Regions from separate parts of the Homo sapiens genome. Here all the other regions are linked to region 3. The links are contacts of gene promoters, found by promoter capture Hi-C in human tissues and cell types (Jung and others, 2019). All regions are on one chromosome and are shown on one strand. The core of a region is centred on a gene start or on the middle of the fragment in contact, and the rest is flanking DNA. Distances in the headings are between cores, read along the strand shown.

Region 1 (2,700 bases), core at 130-2,629, 1.1 Mb after region 3:
CAGAACTTCCTACGTAATCCTTTTATGTTCACAAAATGCTGATTTGCTACTGTTTAAATTAATATGTTCTTAGTATTGGCCTGCCCTTAAATATAAAAGCCACTCCAAAATTATCTGTTGTCTCGAACATGTTTTGAGATGGAGGGTGGGAAAGCAGTGAAACATGAAGAGAAACAAACTGGCTAAGAAATTAAACTCAAGTTGAGCAGAAGAGGAAGGGGCTGCCAGTCCCCACCGCCAACCCTGCCTGATACCACAGAGGGCAATTTCCACCTTTAGAAGGTCATTCTTAACAATTCAGGCTGACAGCAGTAAAGAAGGTTTTCTTCTCTTACTGTGAGGTGACTCACCCCCCCTTAATCGTTTTACATGCATAGCCAACCAAGTATGAATAGACTGATATGGAATACCAGCCTGTGAACTTCATATTCACACAATGTGGTAGGGCACTTATTCAGTACAAATAAGCAATTTAAAAATAGCAAATGTATATTTAGTCTTCATAAACTATAACCAAATTCTTATCACATCTAAGCTGGAGTCAGCCAAACATGAGCTGAAGTCAGCCAAACTTTTCAGGGGGTAGTAAAAATCGCCCAAGACAATATCCTATATCCAGTAAAAGAATGTAATTCCTCTCACCTCCCTGTTTATCCTTTTTAGAGTCCTCTTTACTTAGGTTCTTCCACTTTCCTAAATTAATGACTATTTGCTATGGTTTGGATGTTGATCCCCAATGTTGGAGGCAGGGCCTGATGAGAGGTGTTTGGGTCTTTAGGATGGATTCCTCATGAAGAAATTAATGCCCTCCTTGGGATTGGGGGCACCAAGTGAGTTCTCACTCTATTAGTATTCACAAGAGTTTCCTCAAGGACTGGTTGTTATAACGAGTCTAGCACCTTCCCTGTCTCTTGCCTCCACTCTCATCATGTGACTTCTGCACATGTTGGTTCCCCTTTGCCTTCCACCATGAGTGGAAGCTTCCTGAGGCCCTCATCAGAAACAGATGTTGGTGCCATGCTTCTTGTACAGCCTGCAGAACCATGAGTAAAATAAACCTCTTTTCTTTATAAATTGCCCAGCCTCAGGTATTTTTTACGCCAACACAAACAGACAAAGCACCATTATAATTCAACCCATTTTTTACAGGGAGCCTATTGTATGTCTGTTGGACGATGGAGATGCTACATGAACAAAAGAAAAGTGGCTGCTTCCTCTTGAAGCTTAAAGTCTTGGTGAAGACTTTAAACAGTCTTTAAACAGAGAGGTTCATGGTCTTTGAGACTTATTACAGCAACCAAAAATAACTGGCAGAGGTTCAAAACCCATCCCTTTAAGAAAAAGCAAGTTAAAGTTGATTATTTTTCCAATGAAAGGAAATATTCCATTCATCTGAGTATCAAAGTGGTTTCTAATAAACAAATAGCAATGGGTCACATCAAAGGTAGTATGCCAGAAGCAGTGCTCTGGCAACAACAGCAGACAACTAAATTGTCATCCATGTGAATGATATTAGAATAAAATACTTAAAATATGAATAACTGTATCTGAGAAGAGCTGCTAAATTGTGGCCTTGTAACACAAAACCTTTTAGAAATGAAAGAGCCCAAGACTATTCATTTAAGACCAATATATACTATTTTATATAATGTTCTAGCAAGTTTGCTTACCTAGCATTGCTTTCTAATGTTTTCACAGTATGGACAATAGAGATAATGATTATACTTATACTGCACCCTGGGATAAGCTGACAAGACTGCGAACAAAGGCAACCACCTGACAGCTCTGGCCACCCTGGTCCCTCCTAGGGCTTAGGGATTAGTATCGACTCCCACATGTAATTTACATGCTTCCCACAGTGCCTGTGCTGCCTGTTTCCTTTACTACAGCCAGAAAGTTAAGGGGAGATAGCTGTTTTCCTCATTCAACAACATCAACAAGTTGTTTTATTGTGTTAAAATATGTAAATACCCTGGTTCCACTGGCATCTAGTGGGTGGACACCAGTGATGCCGAACATCCTGACACGCACAGGGCAGCCCCCTCCTTTTTGTTATAACCTCTGGTTTAGATGCCTCCCTCTCCCTACAGGGATTTTTCCCAGCTTATCAGTATGCTTTTATTTTCATTTTAATTAACTCAAAGTGGGCTCAGTTTATTATAAGATCACAAACCAATTGAGGAAAAGGCTGCTACTAAAATATTTGCCTGAATACTCAATGAATGGATTCAGCATGACCCGGCATACTTCTTGTCACCTAAGTTGTCTGGTAGACTCTAGAAAACCCGAAGGAAGAAAGAATACGGAAGTAAGGAAGAAAAGAAAAGGAACAGAAAGATAAGGGCAGAGACTAAGTATGCAGCATAAGAGTAGGAGATTGAACTATTTTTAAAATAGGCCAGGGACAACTGTCTTCATTACAAGGAGGCTACAAACCATCCCAACATCACAGCTGTCTCACCAGTAATTCACTAGCATTCCTTCAGTTCCACAAAAATGCCTGTCTTCTTCCTTCCCATCTTGAGGCCTTGCACATGCTATTCACTCTGCATGGAATATTCTCACTCCTTTCTCACCTCCACCAGTGGTTCTTTTTCTGGGTGATTTTGTCCACTGGGGGACATTTAATGATGTCTGGAGATTTGTAAAGGGTGTCACAGCTGGAGGGAGTTGCTACTGACTGGCCTCTAGTTGGCAGAG
Region 2 (2,700 bases), core at 119-2,618, 1.0 Mb after region 3:
GACCATTGCTGGAGAGCTAGTGCAATCCTTTGGTGATGTCACTACATTCAGATTTTTCATGGTGTCAGAATTCTTGCACTGTTCCTTCTCATCTGAAGATACTTGCCCTTCTAATTTTCATAATCATTTTCATGCAGGTAAGACTTTTCCTTTTTTTCTTTCTCTATATTTTTTTCCCTTTCCCTCCCTCTGTAGGGAGCGGAACTGTAGAGAATGCTGTGTAGGATCTTTTGGCTTTGCTTCTATAGCTCTGTGCACTTCTTTCGCCAGGTTTTATATTGGGCTGTGCAGTCTGACCTACAAGCCAGTAGATGGTGCTTACAGCTAAGAGTGGACTATGGCCAATGCAGCTGGGTATATAATTGATCCTTGTTTACGGGCAGAAGCTCTTCGTTGTCTCAGGCAATGGGCTGATCCATGGAGTAGACAGTGATCTGAGCTCCCTGCTCAGCCCTGGGGGAACGGAGACCATGACAGGTAGGGCAGAACCAGACAGGTTCGCCTACAGATCCAGAAAGGGCAGACACAAGCACCAGCACCAAGGGAGAATCCAGTGCCAGCCACCAAGCTCCCAGTACTGTGCCTAGGCGTGGAACTGGGAAACTCCACTGGCCTCAAGATCTCTACATGGGGATGGGAGCAGCCTAAACTCCTAAAATCTAGGGCAGTGGGTACTGCAAGTGCTTAGAGATCTGCCTGGGCATGCAACAGAGAGGGACCCTCTGCACCAACATCTCTTCACAGGAGGTGTGGGATGACCCAAGCCTGAACCAGGCAAGCAGGTGCTCTGAATGCTTGGAGATCTGCCTGGGCATGTAGCAGAAAGGTCCCCCTGCCCTACACCAGGATCTCTGCACAGGAAAGGTGAGGCAGTTCAGGCTGCTGATTGAAGAGAGCAGGCGCTCCAAATGCCTGGAGATCTACATGGGCATGGAGCAGAGAGGGCCTCCCTGCACTAGGACCTTTGCACAGGAAGTGTGGAGTGGGCCAAGCTGCTGATCCAGATGAGTAGGTGCTCTGAATGCCTGGAGATCTGCCTGGGTGTGGAGCAGAGAGTGCCTCACTGTACTAGGGTCTATGTCCATGAAGGGTGGGGTGGCTCATGCTGTTCCAGGCAACTGAGCATTCCAAATGCCTACATTTCTGCCTGGGGGTGGAGCAGAGAGAGCCCCACTGCACCTCGATCTCAAGGGAGCAGACTGGGACAACCAGCAATGGCACATGCAGACAGGTTCCAGGTTGCCAATCTGGCCCTGCCTGCAAATCTCATCACCGAGGAGAAACTTCAGCCATAGCAGCTCTCCTTCTATCCCTGGCCTGCGATGGAGGAGAGCACCATCCCACAGCCTACTACTGAGGTGCTTTTCACAGTTCTGGCTATGAAGGCCCTTATCCTGCCAGAGAAGGCACTCTAGTCTCTGGCCCAAGACTAAAATGCCAAGCAGCTATGCTGCTAGGTCACCAAAGAATGGCTGACTTTGTATATGCCTAAATTCAAAATGACATCCTGCGGTCAGTCCCAGGTCTGGGGTTAGTGTCTGCAACTTTTCCCTACGTCTTTCCCTCACAGCATCTCCAAGGCACTCACCATATTAGCTCCAGGGCTTTGGAGAAACAAGATGCCCTCCCTCTACCTGGGTTGCTTGGGTCCCCAGTGGAAAGGTGAGTCACAGAGGGAGGCTCACTGCCTCTCTCACATGCTGGCGTTTCAGTCACTTTTATCAGCCAGATGCCATCACAAGGGCTGTTTACCAGTATTCCCAAGGATCTGGGTGTCCTTTACAATTCTGGTGGATTCCCATTTTCCTTCTTGAATTAAAGCTCACAGAGTTGATCTTTATGCACTATCTTGCTATTTTTAAGTGGCTGAAGCACATTAAAAGCCTCCAATCCACTTTTTTTGTCAGCTTGGTCAAAGCTTCCAGAATCTCAGCTCAACTTCTTGTTTATAGCTTCAGTTTTATATTAATAAAATAACATTGAATAATATTATATACTGTTTACTATGTGCCAGACATGACTGTAAGCACTTTATAGATATTAGCTTATTTAAACCTCAGGACAACTTACAAAAGTTTTACAGATAAGGAAACTGAGGTTCACAGAAATGAGTAACTTAATCCAGGTCACAAGGGAGGGGTAGAGCCACATGTGCCAAATGTGCACACAGGCGATCTGGCTTCAGAATTTTTACCATAGCCTCACGTTGGGCAAACTTAAAGGAATGAATCACATTCCATTCTCCAAGTGCCATTTCTTGGATTATAATTTTCTATGTTCTAGCCAGTAATTCACATCTATGAAGCCTCATTAAGACCAAAATTTAAAATATGGAAACATCTTTATAGCCAAAGAAGTTTATTACAATATTAATAATAATGATGGATACTGTATAAAAACTAAATGTTCAATAAGAAGGGAATCTTTTTAAAAAAAATAAGCATCGTTGGAAAAATCTCAGTGGTCAGTTATACCTTCATTTAAAATTATGTTTAAAATAATATGTGAGAGTGGCGGTTCCAACATAGCTGAATAGGAACAGCTCCAGTCTACAGCTCCCAGCGTGAGTGACGCAGAAGATGGGTGATTTCTGCATTTCCAACTGAGGTACTGGGTTCCTCTCACTGGGGCTTGTCAGACAGTGGATGCAGGACAGTGGGTACAGCCCACCGAGCATGAGCCGAAGCAGGGTGAGGCATC
Region 3 (2,700 bases), core at 112-2,611:
CGCGCGCGCCGCTGCCGCTAGACCTGCCAGTAAAGTTGCTCAACTAGAGCGGAGAACTAGGAGAGGGTGGGGAATATGTAAGGAAACGGAGGACTCCTGTAGTCTGGGCGAGAGGACTGACCCAGAGGCCCCTGATTCGGGTCCCCGAGCCACCTTTGTCTGCAGTGCGCTCTGGGTGCCGGTTTGCTTGTTGAGATGGGAGCGACAGACCCTATTTCACTCTTCAGGGTGAGAAAAATTGTTGCACATCCCTGCCGATTCAGAACAGGCTTTTCCCGCCCAGGGGCCTCCCAGACCTCCGCGGGGCTCCAACAACCCCACCCCCCATCCTCTGCTCCTTCCCTGCTGGCCCCTTCGCACCGCGTGCAGGACAAAAGAACCCAGGGGCGCCGGGAGAGAACCGTGACAGTCCCCAAGTCGTCAAAGAGACACGGCGGGGATCCTGCACCTCCCCCGGCCGGACCTCCTCCCAGACTGCCTGCGGTCTGAAGGGGTCAGGTCCGCGCAAGGTCCCAGGCTGCTTGGGCGCCGGGTCGCACTGTCAGGAGCTGCCCGGGAGTGGCTTTCCAGGAACACCAGGCACTGACCACACACCAGGGGCTGGGAAACCAGGTGGCCTGCACCAAGGCGGCTTCGGGGACTTGTCTGTGGCAAGTCTTGGTAGTCCCCATTCAAACTTTTGCCTCGAGCGTGTTAAGAACAACAACAACAAAAAAATCAAAGTGCCAAAGGTCCCTCTCTTCTCTCCAGCTCAAGAACCCACCACTTTTCTATGATTTCTTTACAATTTATTCCCTCCCTTCCCCCAATTCCGTTAGTCATTTTACCCCCCACCCCACCCTGGGTTTCTTTTGTCTGAATCTTTTTCAACACCAAGGTCCCTCTGTATGCCTCTCCCCAAAAGCCCTTATGAAAGTTACCTGCATTTTTTAAGTGCCTACATTTTCTTAACTTCGCCTTACAGCTCTTTGCCTTAATTAAAGCCTTCTACCAATTGCTTCTTTTTTCTAAGCTCGCGGGTTTTTTTCTATAAGTTTTTTGTTTTTGTTTTTTAAGGGGGGAACAAAAGAAACGTGATTACCTTGGAAGGCGGCTTATTGCAGTTTGGGGGGAAAATTCACTGCAGCGCTGCGCGACTGGGTTCGGCGTTGCCCAGGCGGGTCACATAGGAAGCGTGGTGGCCCGGGGAAGGATGCGGAGGGTGCGGGACGGTGCTGGAAGATGCGGGAGGATGCGGGGCTGGCCGAAGATCTTGGTCCCAGCTCCTGTCCACAACACCTAATGTTCTCGGCTGTTGCGTCCGCACGCCTGGAGTTCTTCCCCAGAAAGGCTCGGGGCAGCTCGCCTGCAAGTTCAAATGCGGGTTGTGACACCCATCATCATTATATCACTGTACCGTCAGAGCCGAGGAGGAGACTCAGCGAGAAGAAGGAGGAGGGAGAGGAGGAGGGTTCATTCACAGGCTCCAAAAGCGCTCCGCAGCTTCAGCCACTCCTAAGAGTCCAGGCTTGGAAAGCAGGCGGAGGGGCGGAAAGGCAGCTCCCCGCGCCTGCGGTAGGGACCGCCTGCCTCCCTCCCCAGGCACTCCCACCTCTTGGCGTTTCTTCCTGACAAGAAGTACCAATCGGCTTGGGGACAGCAGCGCTCCCCATTCAGGGACTCACTCAGTAACATCGCTCTGCTCGCGGAAACCACTGCCCTCCCACTCCTTCCCCACCCCCATTTCCCCGCCCCCCGTGCAGCTAGTTCTGGGTTAGGGGAAAGGAGCCCCCAGGCTCTTAGGGGGCAGGCCAGCAATAGACAATTGAGTACGATCACTTCTTCTCGGGAGCACACAAAACTGTAAAATCAGCAAAGAACTTGGTTACAGCGTGTTTACGCGCCCACAGAGCTTGCCTGTCCCATCAAAGGGAAGTGTCAGGCTCAAGGCTCCTGCCAACCTGAAAGAGACACTGAGAAAACGAGATCCTTCGGGGACCTAGAGGGAAAGTGTAAGAATTCCCCACTGCACTCCCAGGGAACTGCCCAATGGGGAGCCCGGCTTCAAAAGACCCTGGTAATAAAAGGCTGGACAGGAAATTCCCCCAGGCAAATCCCTTGTCGGATTCAAAGAGAATACTTTTCCTCTGCCACAAATCTCTCCCCACATAAGTCTAGATTCTGCTTTCTTCGTTCTTCCTTTCCTTCAGTCTTTCCAAGTATCTCTGAGTAGAATATTTGATAATTTTCCTGAGTAACAGGGACTTCTTGGAAGTATCAATCACCTTTCATGCTTTCCGGAAATAAGACCATAATCTTTCATGCGTATATGCGATTTTTTTTCTTCAGTCAGGCCCACCCCACTGTGTAAACAGCATCAACACATGGAAGAGTCCCCTGCATTGTGTTACAAAAGATTTCCAATAGGACCTTACAGAGAAAAGGGTCAAACAGTTGACACAAAGGATTTCTGTCCCCTTAGAAAAGAGGGACTTTGGATTTTCCTTTTCTTTGAAGTCAAGTATGAGTTTATACAATAGGAACAAAATAAATCCAAGGTGCACATCAGTATAACACTAGGGATACTAGAATGGATGGCAAACTTTTCCTTCTACACAAATATGAAAGTATCCTCACAACTCTTCTCTCTGAAGCCTCTACTTAGAAAATTATATTAAACATAGGACCTCAAAACAGTAGTGATTAAAGATGAAAGCCAAT

Evidence for each region. The method cuts DNA at HindIII sites, captures the fragments that hold promoters and counts their contacts. A contact is called where the count stands out against the background at its distance.
Region 1: a contact is called between a fragment that was not itself captured here and the fragment with the promoter of VCAN in region 3, in 1 of the 25 tissues and cell types used here (dorsolateral prefrontal cortex).
Region 2: a fragment that was not itself captured here is called in contact with the fragment with the promoter of VCAN in region 3 in 1 of the 25 tissues and cell types used here (lymphoblastoid cells).

Annotation. Positions count from the first base shown.
Region 1 is chr5:82,403,000-82,405,699 of GRCh38, reverse strand. LOC124901019 (a long non-coding RNA gene) reads left to right here. Exons shown (of 3, transcript XR_007058845.1): 3 at 1-32. Among named protein-coding and RNA genes, the nearest start is that of RPS23, 130 kb to the right of the region's middle. The HindIII fragment of the contact is 4,090 bases long and covers 1-2,700 here.
Region 2 is chr5:82,457,482-82,460,181 of GRCh38, reverse strand. No RefSeq gene overlaps it. Among named protein-coding and RNA genes, the nearest start is that of RPS23, 180 kb to the right of the region's middle. The HindIII fragment of the contact is 8,215 bases long and covers 1-2,700 here.
Region 3 is chr5:83,470,405-83,473,104 of GRCh38, reverse strand. It overlaps VCAN (versican), which reads right to left and starts at 1,361. Exons shown (of 15, transcript NM_004385.5): 1 at 1,082-1,361. RefSeq lists an enhancer at 60-932. The HindIII fragment of the contact is 7,638 bases long and covers 1-2,700 here.